Linked DNA regions of Homo sapiens: region 1 is linked to region 2. Evidence: promoter capture Hi-C in human tissues and cell types (Jung and others, 2019). All regions are on one chromosome and are shown on one strand. The core of a region is centred on a gene start or on the middle of the fragment in contact, and the rest is flanking DNA. Distances in the headings are between cores, read along the strand shown.

The links. The method cuts DNA at HindIII sites, captures the fragments that hold promoters and counts their contacts. A contact is called where the count stands out against the background at its distance.
Region 1: a contact is called between a fragment that was not itself captured here and the fragment with the promoter of LIMK2 in region 2, in 1 of the 25 tissues and cell types used here (dorsolateral prefrontal cortex).

What each region holds. Positions count from the first base shown.
Region 1 is chr22:30,677,108-30,683,486 of GRCh38, reverse strand. No RefSeq gene overlaps it. Among named protein-coding and RNA genes, the nearest start is that of DUSP18, 12 kb to the right of the region's middle. The HindIII fragment of the contact is 9,026 bases long and covers 1-5,982 here.
Region 2 is chr22:31,207,079-31,214,383 of GRCh38, reverse strand. It overlaps LIMK2 (LIM domain kinase 2), which reads right to left and starts at 2,086. Exons shown (of 16, transcript NM_005569.4): 1 at 1,960-2,086. The coding sequence starts at 1,975. RefSeq lists enhancers at 478-1,403, 2,366-2,545 and a silencer at 1,986-2,385. The HindIII fragment of the contact is 2,868 bases long and covers 796-3,663 here.

The DNA.
Region 1 (6,379 bases), core at 220-2,719, 530 kb after region 2:
GTGTACTCCAGCCTGGGCGATGGAAGGAAGGGGAGGGGATTGGAGGGGATGAGGGAGGGATGGGGTTAAAGGAAGGAGAGAAGAAAGAATGGAAGAAAGGAAGAACAAAAGCAAGAAAGGAAGGAAGAGAGGGAGGGAGGAAGGGAGGAAGAAAGTTAGTTCCAAGGTGGAAAATCAAGAGGCCTGTTTGGAGAAATGAGAGAAATCATGGGATCTGGCTTATGGGAAGAAGTATGGGAAATCAGGTTGGAAAGGCAGGTTCCAGGGGATCAGGCCCTCCCAGCCCTCTAATATGACAAAGCTAAGGATTCTTTGGTGACCAAAATTCTTCCTGGTGACCATTTCATTCTTGTGGAGCAAGTGCACTCAGTCCCCGAGAAGTACCTGGGGAGGGCTTGGTTGGAGCCCCAGTGACCAACCATTGCTCCCCACCAGGTTCCCAACAGGCACATGCTGGCTTGGGGTGCTCCAAGGCCCCCTGGAGGATATGGATCTGTCTCAGCCCAATTTCTTTCTCCTAAAGGATTAACTGAATATGAGGGAAGAGAGTAGATCACCAATCCTCAGAAAAGGCATTTAAGGGCCAAGCACGGTGGCACATGCCTATAATCCCAGCACTTTGGGAGGCCGAGGCAGGTGGATCACCTGAGGTCAGGAGTTCAAGACCAGCCTGCCAACATGGTGAAACCCCATCTCTACTAAAAATACAAAAACAAAACAAAACAAAACAAAAAATTAGCCAGGCGTGGTGGTGGGTGCCTGTAATCCCAGCTACCCAGGAGGCTGAGGCAGGAGAATCGCTTGAACCTGGGAGTGGGAGGTTGCAGTAAGCCAAGATCGTGCCATTGCAGTACAGCCTGGGCAACAAGAGCGAAACTTCGTCTCAAAAAAAAAAAAAAAAAAAAGGTGGGGGATATATGTTACCCAGGGTCTCAGAGCAAACTGAGGAGTCATAGAAGCCGAACTCCCACCTCTAGATTATTATTCCGAGGCCCACTCCCCAGCACCAGGCTGCCTCTTGAATTGTATGTGTCAACTCCAAGTACAGCACAATTACAGTTGCCGACACAACCCCCTTCCCATTCACCCGTGAGACGACAGGTCTTGGGCTAGGTTCTTGTCAAGCTCACTGGGTTCTCAGAGCAAGCCTATGAAGTAGGTACTACAATTATTCCCAGTTTCCAGATGAGGAAGGTGAAGCTCCGAGGGGCAAAATGACTTTCTTGTGCAAGGCAGAGCTGAGATTCCAAATAGAGCCATCTGACTTCAGAGGCCATGCACATCAGATAAAGGAAGCCTCACTGCAGCAGGGAGGGACACACACAGCCTTCCAGTCCTGTGGACAGCATTTCCAGAGGCCAAAGAATTGCACAGAGAAAAGACTGCGTAAACCAGGTTCTCCCCATAAAGCCCAAAGGAGGCATCCTGCATTCAGCCAGAGGCATCAGACTCCAGCAGCCAGCGGTTTCACCTGATTGCTTTTCTTCCTACTCTGCCACCCCTGAGACTATTCAAATACAATCTCCATGGAAGCAGAGGATTTGAGTCAGTTTTGTTCACTGATGATTTCTAGCACCTACAAGAGTGCCTGGTACATATGAGGAGCTATTAATAAATAAACACATGCTGGATAAAGTGGAAGATGAGTGTTTTTTAACCATAGGGAGATTTATTTTATTTTATTTTGAGATAGGGTTTTGCTCTCACCAGGTTGAAGTGCAGTGGTTCAATCTTGGCTCACTGCAGCCTTGACCTCCTGGGCTCAAGAGATCCTCCCACCTCAGCTTCCCAAGTAGCTGGGAGTAAAGGCACATGCCACCACATCAGGGTGATTTTTCATTTTATTTTTTGTAGAGACAGGGTCTCGCTATATTGCCCAGGCTAGTCCCAAACTACTAGCCTCAAGTGATCCTCCCACCTGGACCTCCCAAAGTGCTGGGATTACTGGCATGAAACACTGTGCCTGGCCAAGCTCCTGTACAGGGGAACTTCCATTAGCTGGGAGACCCAACTTGACCCAGTGGGGAGGTGCATTTGAATGACAGTGGCTTGGGGCAGAAGCTTTGAAAATGCTGCTGGATGAGCAGACTGGATAAGGAATACCACTGGGAGTCACTTTGTAAAGTGATAAACACATTAGTCAAGTAAAACTCTCCCTGAGTGATCATTTTTGATAAGCCTGGATTTTCTGGCTTTGCTCAGAGCAGGATTTGTTCCTTTCCACTCAGCAGATGTTTGTGAAGCATTATGTGTGCAAAGCTCTGTTGCCACATCTCAGGATCTGAGAAATGGAAGGAAGTGCAGAAACCACCCACCAGCCCCACTGTCCCTGAAGAGCAAGTGGGAGAGCTGAAGCCCAGAGAGACATTACTGGGGGAGACAGGAGGTCCCAGTCCAAGGCCTGCCCCTGGCTCTGTCCCTCATAGGCCTGCAAACTTTCAAAGTCAGCTGCTGGACCAGGCCCAGAATTCTAATAGCCAGAGTAACACTTCCTAATTTAACAAAGGGCTAGGCTGGAAAGTGTTCCTGTTTCTTGTTCCTGCTAGGGGTCCCCAAGAATTAAATGACTTTGCTGGCCAGGCACGTGGCTCACACCTGTAATCCCAGCAGTTTGGGAGGTCAAGATGGGAGGATCACCTGAGGTCAGGAATTTGAGACCAGTCTGGCCAACGTGGCGAAACCCCATCTCTACTAAAAATATAAAAATTAGTGAGGTGTGGTGGCACATGCCTGTAATCCTAGCTACTCAGGAAGCTGAGGCACGAAAATCATTTGAACCTGGGAGGCAGGGGTTGCAGTGAGCTGAGATTGTACCACTGCACTCCAGCCTGGGCAACAGAGCAAGACTCCTGACTCAAAGAGAAAAAAAAAAAAACACTGAGTGACTACCCCATTTACTAGGCATTGTGATTGCAGGGATGAGTAAGTCAGCATCGCTGCCATCAAGACATTTATAACCAGACCAGGTGGCACAGCGGCTCACGCCTGTAATCGCAGCACTTCAAGAAGCCAAGGTGGGTGGATCACCTGAGGTCAGGAGTTTAAGACCAGCCTGGCCAACATAATAAAACCTCATCTCGGCTGGGTGCGGTGGCTCACACCTGTAATCCCAGCAGTTTGGGAGGCCAAAGTGGGCAGATCACGAGGTCAAGAGATTGAGACCATCCTGGCCAACATGGTGAAACCCTGTCTCTACTAAAAATACAAAAGTTAGCTGGGTGTGGTGGCACGTGCCTGTAGTCCCAGCTGTTCGGGAGGCTGAGGCAGGAGAATTGCTTGAACCTGGGAGGTGGAGGTTGCAGTGAGCACCACTGCATTCCAGCCTGGCGACAGAGCAAGACTCTGTCAAAAAAAAAAAAAAAAGATATTTACAACCTGATTGGAGCGACAGTGTGCAAACAAATGATGTTGTGCACTAAGCACTCTGTGTGAAGACGGGTGTGGGGACTCAGAAGCACAGGAAAGAATGGCCTTTTCTACTGGGGCCAGCTGTTGGCATCAAAGAAGAAAAGAGGCCTGAACTGAATCTTGGAGGATCCTTGGTCCCTGCCTTCAAACAGTGTTGGGAGAAAAGCTGAGTGTTGGGAGAGAAGCTGAGGCAGGGGTTGCATGTCTGCTAGAATTGCTGGCTCCTTGCTTCTAGCACTCCCATTATCTCAAGCAGCTATATGTTTCTCATTCACTTGATACACTGTTTCCTTTCAACTCCCACATCCTCACCAACTGTTTCTTTGTTTGAGCATCAATAAATAGCATGGGCTTCCAGAGCTCCAGGGCCTTTGCAGCTTCCACACTCGCCATGACCCCTGGTCCCACTTTCTCTCTCAAACTTTTTTTTCATTCCTTTGACTCCACCAGACTTCGTCGTCCCCACAACCTGGTGTTGGGTCTGATCACCCCAACATTCCTGGCTGCCCAACGTGGGGCGACAAAGACCCCGGTGAAGGAACACTAGAGCATGTGAAAGCGGAGGACACATTGTCACAGGACACCCAAGAACGTCGAACGTCTAAAAGAAGCTCGGCAGGAAAGCTGAGCACTGGGAAGAACCAGGGTAACAATGGGACAAAGTGAAAGCAGACATTCTGCTTATTTAGATTTCTTAAAGCATTTATTACAAAGAGGGGGGCATGAAAGTTAGTACTCACAATTTGTTAATCACTCTTTAGTACAGTAAAGCAGTTTTGCCCATGGTTTCCTGAACAAGGGACTATGGAGTTGAATAAATGGGAGAGAACTGGGGGAGACTTTAAAAAGGCATATAAAGAGGGAGCAGAAGTTCTAGTTTCCGTTTGGTCAATGTGGGTGCTAATAAAGGCAGCTCTTAAGCCATTTCAAACAGATCATGAGGCAGATTCAGATGAGGAAGAGGAGGACAAGTGTAAAAAACTAACTTCAGATTCTGAGTGTGAGGAACAGCTACCGGAGGAGATGAAAGAAAGGAAAACTGAAAAAAGTATGTTTTACTAGCCTGTCGGCTCCACCTGCTGAATTAAGTGAATGGCCACCTCCTCTCTCTCCCTTTAATGGGCAAGAAAATAAATTAGCCGAAAAACTTACTGCTTCTGTAGTTGCAACATTAAAACTGGAGCAATTGGTGGTGCTATACAAAATTCTATTCAAAAAGCTAGAGCTGAGGGAGACCTTGAAGCATGGCAATTTCCCGTTACTATAATCCAGTAGGGAGGCAGGGCTAATATAGCTAATTGGGCTACTTTTCCTTTTAAGTTACTAAAGGAATTGAAGGACGCCATTAGTCAATACGGACCGAACCCTCCTTTTGTGCAAACTTTAAAAATATGGCTCTGATAATAAATTAATACCATATGATTGGGATACGTTGACAAAATCTGTTCTCACTCCGTCTCAGTATTTACAGTTTAAAACTTGGTGGACTGATGAAGCTCAAACTCAGGCAAGGGAAAACACACAAGTGCAGCCACCTGTGCCTGTTTCCTTTGAACGGTTAATGGGAGTTGGCCCCAACTGGGGTCGATTAGAAAATCAAGCAGTAATGAAGGATGTTGCCATTGTTTAGCTGCACTTTGTGTGCTTACAGGCATGAGAAAGGATAAATGTTACAAGGGAAAAATATCCCTCTTTCAGTTCTGTCTGACAAGGACCCAAAGAACCATATATTGATATTATTGCTTGACTCCAAGAGGCTGTGTATAAAGCCATAACTGATAAAACAGCACAGGATGTTGTAACACAGCTTCGTGCATACGATACTGCTAATGCAGAGTGTCAAACTGCTATTTGACCCCTGAGAGGGAAGGCTTATTTAGCTGAATATATTAAGGCTTACGATGGCATTGGAGGTAACTTATATAAGGCTACTCTTTTAGATCAGACTATGGCTGGTTTAAGAGTAGGAAACAATATGCCCCATTTCTCAGGATCTTGCTTTAATTGTGGGCAATTTGGACACACAAGAAAGGAATGTAGAAAAGGAAATCAAAAGGCAAAAACTACCATCAATCAACAGAAAAGTCCCGGTGTATGTCCCCGGTGTAAGAAAGGCAATCACTGGGAAAGTCAGTGTCATTATAAATTTAGCAAAGATGGACAACCTCTTTCGGGAAATGGGAAGAGGGGCCCGCCTCGAGCCCCTCAACAAACCAAGGCATACCCGGCACAGCCAGTACCCTTACAAACGTACAACAGTTGTCCCCCGCCTCAGCAGGCAGTGCTGCCATAGATGTCTACAGCACAATTCCCATCTCCTTACTTCCTGGGGAGCCACCAAAGGTCCCCACGGGAGTTAGGGGACCCTTACCCTCAGGAACAGTAGGTCTATTATTTGAAAGGTCTAGTCTGAATTTAAAAGGTGTTACTGTACATATGGGAATAATCGACTCTGATTATACTGGAGAAATTAAATTAGTTATTAGTTCCTCGACTCCGTGGTCTGCCTCCCCAGGAAAAATGATTGCTCAATTGTTGCTGTTACCTTACATAAAACTAGGAAGAGTACAGTGAAAAGAACAGGAGGCTTTGGTAATACTAATCCAGCAGGAAAGGCTGTGTATTGGGTTAATCAAGTGTCTGACAAAAGACCTATTTGCACAGTAACTATTCAGGGAAAAGATTTTGAAGGACTAGTAGATAACTGGAGCTGATGTCTCTATTATTGCTATAAATCAATGGCCCCAGCACTGGCCTAAGCAAAAGGCATCCATTGGTATTGCTGGAGTAGGAGCTGCCTCAGAAGTTTTTCAAAGTTCTTTGATTTTACCATGTCAAGGGCCAGATGGTCAGGAAGGGACATTTCAGCCTATCATTTACACCTATTCCTGTCAATTTATGGGGTAGAGACTTATTGCAACAATGGGATGCTGAAATATCTATTCCTATGGATCAATATAGTAATAATAGA
Region 2 (7,305 bases), core at 837-3,336:
AATTATTTATTGTCCATCTCTAGGATTATTAAGCACCACAAAGCCAAGAACTATGTCACCACTGTACTCAGCATTTGGCTAAGTATATGACACAGAAGAATCCAACAAATATTCTTTGAATGAAAGAAAGAATGCATAAACTAATGCATCTAGAGGCTTTATGCCTCTAGACTATTGTACTGTGAAACCTTTCACAATTTTCTAAGAAACAGGGTTCAAGACAGGCAACCTATATTACACAGCTGTTAGAAAAAGTTACTGGAAATCGGCCGGGTGCGGTGGCTCACGCCTGTAATCCCAGCACTTTGGGAGGCCGAAGCGGGCGGATCACAAGGTCAGGAGTTCAAGACCAGCCTGGCCAATATGGTGAAACCCCATCTCTACTAAATATACCAAAAAAATTAGCCGGGCGTGGTGGCGGGCCCCTGTTGTCCCAGCTACTCGGGAGGCTGAGGTAGGAGAATCGCTTGAACCCGGGAGGCAGAGGTTGCAATGAGCCAAGATTGTGCCACTGCACCCCAGCCTGGGCGACAGAGCAAGACTCCATCTAAGAAAAAAAAAAAAAAGTTACTGGAAATCATTCGAGTTGAAGGACTCTGTAAGCTTAAAAAAAATCTTTTTTAAGAGACAAGGTTTTGTTTTTAAGAGATGAAGTCTCGCTATATTGCCCAAGCTGGTCTCAAACTCCTGGACTCAAGCGATCCTCCTGCCCTGCCCTCCCAAAGTGCTGGGATTACAGGCATGAGCCACCACGCCCAGCCTAAAAAAATTTGTTTTAGGCATTTCCACCCCTAGCTCTCTCCAGAAGTCTGTTATCACCAGTGAAGAGAAAATCCCATGCTCCCTTGCTGAGGAAGTGACCCACTGGTAGCCCAGTCCTTGCATTCAAGATGAAGGAAGTGACTGTCCACAGACGGAAAGCCAGGAAGCAGGGGGCAGATAGCCAGCCCCCCTCCACCTCAATACCCTCTTGCCGCCTCTCCAAAGCTTCTGGACGCTGACCCTGGTGGACCCAGAGGTGGGCCACCCACACAGGTGGCTGGGAAACATAGGAGACAGAAGGTTCCTACTGCTGGGGGAAAAGATGGGGAAGGCAGGAAGCTGCAGGGTGGTGTGTGAGGTGGCGGGGAGGTGACTGCAGGTGCAACTAACCCAACTCTGAAGCTACCCTTCACCCTTAGACAACTCTTCCTTCCAGGAGGTGTTTGGCCGAATCCCTCTAGTCTTTAGTCTAGAGAGGCCAAGGGAGCTTCCACAGGAGGACTCAGAACCCCAGGTGGCCTACTTTCGCCACCTGTAGCAGAGATCTTTGGGCCCCAAAAAGAATGGTCCGATCTCTCCTTACCCTTAGTCCTGTCCTAAACCTCAAGGGGCTCCATACTCCCTTATTTTCTGCAAAGAGCTCCCAGCCCCGGGGGACTCCCAGACACCAAGATGCCCGCGAGAAGCCTTGGGTCTTGGCAGGGAAGTCACATCCTCCATTTCCCTCAGAAAACCCAGAACCCGGGGTAACTCTCCTAATTGTCCTGAACCCTAGAGGATCCTGTACTCCTCAAATTCCACAGAGCTTCCACTATAAGAGAACCCCATGCTTTTCAACTTCCTTAAAAAGGGTTAATTTGGGGGTCTGCGGCCGCCAGGTCCCTCCAAAAAGCTGGATTCCTGGCAGACCCAGAATCTCTTCCTCCCCGGGACCTCAACTCGCGGGAAGCCTCCCAACCCGCCTGCCCCTCGGAGCCCTCTGTCTCCAGGATGCCCTGCCTCCCCATTCCCGGAGTCCCACCCTCCAAATGCCTGGGGAGCGCTGTGCCCACCCCGCCTCCCAGCTTTTCTGAGGAGCTCGGACCCACGAGGACCCAACCAGCCCGAAACCCCCGAGAGACAGCCGGTTTCCCTCAGGCGCCATGGAACCGGACTTCGGAGATAACAGCGGGACAGGGCGGAGCAGCCCTTCCTTACCCGCCAGCGCGGACATGGTCCCGGGAGCGCGGAAATGGGGAGGAGGAGGCGGGGGACACAGCAGCTCCCCTCAGTTCCCTACAACTCCCCTCAGCTCCTGCCGCCGCCGCCTCAGGCGCGGGAAGACCACAGCCCCAGGCGCGAACGGGATGCACCGCCTACGGCGCCCTGGGAGGACCAAACCACACCTGGCACAGGGGACTGCCCGCCGACGCCCCGCCCCGCCGCTCTCAGGCCTCGCTCCCGAGACGCGGCCCCGCCCCCTGGCTCTGGCTCGGGCTCTGCAGCGGCCCTGGCGCCCCCTAGTGCGAGCGGCGTCCCCTCGAGGTGCTCCCGCCGGTAAGGTTGATTCTGCGGGGGCCGGAAGTCTCAACACGGATGACAGTCCGCACCCATCTAGTCGCCCTCATTTACAGATAGGGAAAGTTAAGGATCAGAGGCTAAGTTCGACTACATTGAAATGGCTTCGCTCATTAGGAGGAGAGCCGGGATGGGAGCCCAGGCCTGCTAACTGCCAGTTCAGAGCTCTTTCCAGTAGTGTTTGGAATCAGGAATATTACAATGGAGGAGCCAGGTCTATCCCACAAACAGCTTTGAGGATGGACTTTTCTTAGAAGCTTCTAGCTCAGAGAAACCACTTCTCTGCGCCACTATGAGTAAGCTGACAGTAAATAATCTCTAAGTCAAAGACAGTTGGAGGCGACCAACCAGCATTCCAGGAGCAGATCCTCAGCCAGGCCAATTAGGTTTAGCGCAGGACGCTGGAGCTTGTGCGCCGCATTGGAAGACGAGCACTCCCCTGCAGGAACATGGGCCTACCATTCCCAGGTCTTCCAACCTTTCAAAACATGCCAAAAATCCAGATATTTAGGTGAAATTTGCCACTTTTAAAAAATGTTGATAGCATCAAAAAGTTCTTAAAATGCCATGTAGACCAAATGAAACACACCTGGCCACTAGATTTGCCCTGTGGGCTGCCAGTTTACAATCTTCTATGAGGAGGAGGGATTACAGGACTAAGAGTTAGGACAGCTGACTGGGTTATGGCAGCTGCTAGCTGGCTGAGTAGCTTTGAGAACCACTTCCGCTCATTAGGTTTGGAAGGAGATTGGGGTCCTCTGTGTGATTAAGATATTAATACATCATCAGCCAGGCCAGCTGGTCCCTGATGACCCACCCTCCCATCAGATTCTCTCACGCTGGGTCTTTCACAATTGTCATTTCCTTACATCAGATTTAGATCACAGGAAACATGTCCAAATGACCAGAAAGAGGATGGAGCCCAGGGAAATGGATTCTGTCCCCTCCACCCCCACCCCTGACCAAAGACAAAGTTCAACCCAGCTGCCTCTGGTCCCAGCAGTTGGGTAAGCAAAGGCAAAGGCAAAGACAAAGGCGAGCACAATTCTCTTCCTTCCTGCTCTAATTCAAACCGGATGCCGGTCAGATTTTTCTCTTCTGGGTGTGGCAGGTGGCTCACGATGTCCTGAGTGTGCACAAAGTGCTGGGGAGGAGGGCTCTGTCCCATTTCCGTTAATTCCTGGGAACTCTTTTCAGTACTCAGTTTTGTAGTTTCTGAGGAAATCATTATAGTAAACACAAGATTGTGTATTGAATTAAAGTGACAGGAATCCAGAGACTCTCCTGACAAGCTGCCTCATGGCTAGCAAACAGGGGACAGGGACTTTCCCCATCCTTCCTACAGAAAGATGTAACACTGTATTTTCCCAGGCAACAAAGCACTGGCATCCTGGGAACCAAAACCTCCTGGGTGTCTTCCCTCTCCCTCCGTTCCACACCAAGGCACCCAGGTCTATCTCTTCTCCCTCCTCATTCTCTCTCACATTCCACTTCCTCCTACCTCCAGCCTCATGGTCTTCACCAGCAGGGAGCTGGGGAATAGCCAAGTCCCCCAAGTTCCTCCCAGGGAAGTTCAGGCGACTCTGAGAAACACAAGTTGAAAATGTAATGGAAGGGAATAGCTTTCTATAGAAATGCTATAGCCAAGAGATATATTTTTAATATGGACCCAAAGAACATTCCAGAAATCACTTGTGAACTCAAGGGGGACTTCTGGAGGGTAGAGAAAGCCTGGGCAGGGAGTAGACCAACTGAGTTTCAATAGCACCCAGGTTACCTGTCCACAGTTTGTTTCACTGGCCATAGCTTGGTCAGTCCCTAGGGCCAGATCCTGCCAGCCGCCTCACAGTCAACTCTCTGAGCCTAGGATCCTGAAACCTGGACCTTGAAAAACAACTCAAGGTTCTGCCCTCTTGAAGGTACTGGTCCACTGGTACCCAACCAGACTTGCCCAGTGTCACTTCCACTTGCTTCAAACTGAGCCAGTCTCTGCCCTCCCTGAATCATCCTACCCAAAACTGACTGTGTTAATCTTCCAAAAGTATGTTTCTGGACCTGTCATCTCTCTGTTCAAAACCCTTCAACAGCACCCCACTGCCTACAAAATAAAAGCCAAACCAGTCCTCATGAGCTGACTACATCTCACCCTGCGGACTTGTCTCCCTATTCCCTTCACTCCAGGACTCTGCTTTTTCCTGAGCACATCCTGCCTTGCGCCACCTGCCATTCCTACAACAACCAGCTCTCCAGGTTCTCTGTAATTTTGTGCCCCACTCTGCCCAGAGTGCAGTCTTGTTTCTCAACTCTAAATGATATAGTGGCATCTGTAACATCACAAAGTAGGACTACCAGACATTAAGTGCCTCCAGGTAAGACGCACCAAGTATATACTATCACCTATGACGTAGTCTTACAAAACAAAAATAATAAGCTTGAATCTGGTCAAGCTTCTAGATCTAACAACCAACTTACAGGAAATACATGGAGAAGAGGAGCTTAATAACATTTCCATGATGCAAATAGCAAAAATGATGCTGTGGGAAATGCAACAGGACAAATAACCTAGTTTCTTTAACAGATAAACTGCAGAGTAGAAAAAATTTCATAGACAGGCCAGGCAAGGTGGCTCACCCCTGTAATCCTAGCACTTTGGGAGGCTGAGGCGGGTGGATCATGAGGTCAGGAGCTTGAGACCATCCTGGCTGACATGGTGAAACCCCGTCTGTACTAAAAATACAAAAAAAATTAGCCGGGCGTGGTGGCGGGCACCTGTAGTCTCAGCTACTTGGGAGGCTGAGGCAGGAGAATTGTGTGAACCCAGGAGGTGGAGCTTGCAGTTAGCCGAGATCCCGCCACTGCACTTCAGCCTGGGCAACAGAGCGAGACTCTGTCACACAAACACACACACAAAAAAACAAAAAATTAGCCAGGCATGATGGCGGGCGCCTGTAGTCCCAGCTACCAAGGAGGCTGAGGCATGAGAATCACTTGAACCCGGGAGACGGGGGCTGTAGTGAGCTGGGATCGCATCACTGCACTCCAGTCTGGGCGGCAAGTGAAACTCTGTCTCAAAAAAAAAAAAAAAAAAAATTCAGAGACAAATAATAGCAATGTATGAAACTGATTTGGATCTCAATTGAAACTACACAAGTTATGAGACAACTAGGGAAATCTGAACAATGTGATTGGATATGATGATTTTAAGAAATTTTTTAAAGGTATTTTGCTTTTTTTTTTTTTTTGAGATGGAGTCTTGCTCTGTCGCCCCGACTGGAGTGCACTGGTGCGATCTCGGCTCACTGCAACCTCTGCCTCCCGGGTTCAAGCGATTCTCCTGCCTCAGTCTCCCGAGTTGCTGAGACTACAGGCGCCTACCGCTACGCCTGGCTAATTTTTTGTATTTTAGTAGAGACGGGGTTTCACTATGTTGCCCAGGTTGGTCTCAAACTCCTGAGCTCTGGCAATCCGCCCGCCTCACCCTCCCAAAGTGCTAGGATCACAGGTGTGTGCCATCGTGCCCGGCATATTTTGCTTGTTTTTAAAATACTTGAGATGCATATCGAAATACTTAATAAATGACATGACTGGGGTTTGTTTCCGAATAGTTCAGACAGTGGGAGAGGAACAGCGTGCGGGAGGTATAGATGCAACAAGACTGATCTGAGTTGATAGTTACTGGAGTTGGGTTATGGCTACATGGAGGCTTTATTGTCCTGTTCTACTACTGTTTTTTTTTTTTTTTCCCCATCGAAAACAAAAACCTAAGGCCGGGCATGGTGGCTTAAACCTGTAATTCCAACACTTTGGGAGGCTGAGGTGGGAGAACCTACTGAGACCGGGAGTTCCAGGCTGCAGTAAGCTGTGATCACACCACTGCACTCTAGCCAGGGCACCCGAGTAAGACCCTGTTTCTAAAAGGGTCTGTTGCCCTGGCTGGAATGCACTAGCATGATCACAACTCACTGCAGCCTTGACCTCCCAGGCTCAGGTGATCTTCCCACCTCAGCCTCCCTCCCGGGTAGCTGGGACCACAAGCATGCACCACTGTGCCTGGCTAATATTTTTTATTTTTGTAGAGATGGAGTCTCCCTGTGTTGCCCAGGCTGGTCTCAAACTCTTGGCCTCAAGCGATCCTCCCACCTCAGCCTCACAAAGTGCTGGGGTTTGTAGGTGTAAGCCACCATGCCTGGCCTAAAATTAAAATCTTTCAAAAAAAAAAAAAAAACCTGGTCTTTTCTCATTGGGCTTATGAGCTCCTGAAGTTCCCTCACCTTTGCATTCCCCACTGTATCTTGGTACTATTCAATTTGATAACTGTTAGATCAAAATCTAAGAGGAAGAAAAAAAGCTCTTTTCAGAGGAATTACTTGTAGCTCTGGCATGTTGGGAAGGCTGAGGCTGGGCCAGATTTGTAACCTCAGCAACATCTTCCATCTCACACTACACCCTGCTACTAAGGAACCTTAGGGAGGGACACACCTTCTGCTCGAGAGAGAGGACTTGGCTGACAGCCCACCTGCCCTGTTACTAAACAGATGGAGAGACGCTGACAGTGAGTAACCTGATTGTTCTAAAGGCTCTGATAAGTGACAAGCTAAGCTCTATTGTGGCAGCTTGTCACTTACGAAGCTCAGGAATGCCATGTACTTGTCAGGACTGGGGCTGCCTGTCAGACAGGTTTTATATTGGGCAAGGCTGTGTATGAAGCCAGGCCTCCAGCCTACATTTATCATCTCTAATTATCAATAGTCGTTTAAAGACTTTCTTTCCTTTTTTTTAAGAGACAGTCTCGCTTTGTCACCCAGGCTGGAGTTCAGTGGCATGATCATAGCTCAATGCAGCCTTGAAACTCAGGGCTCAAGCAATCCTCTTGCCTCAGCCTCCAGAGTAACTAGGACTACAGGCATAAGTCATGCCCAGCTTCTTTGAAGACTTTCGTTCTCAGTGTGACATTACGGAGGATGCACAGGAGCCTCCAGGAGGGCA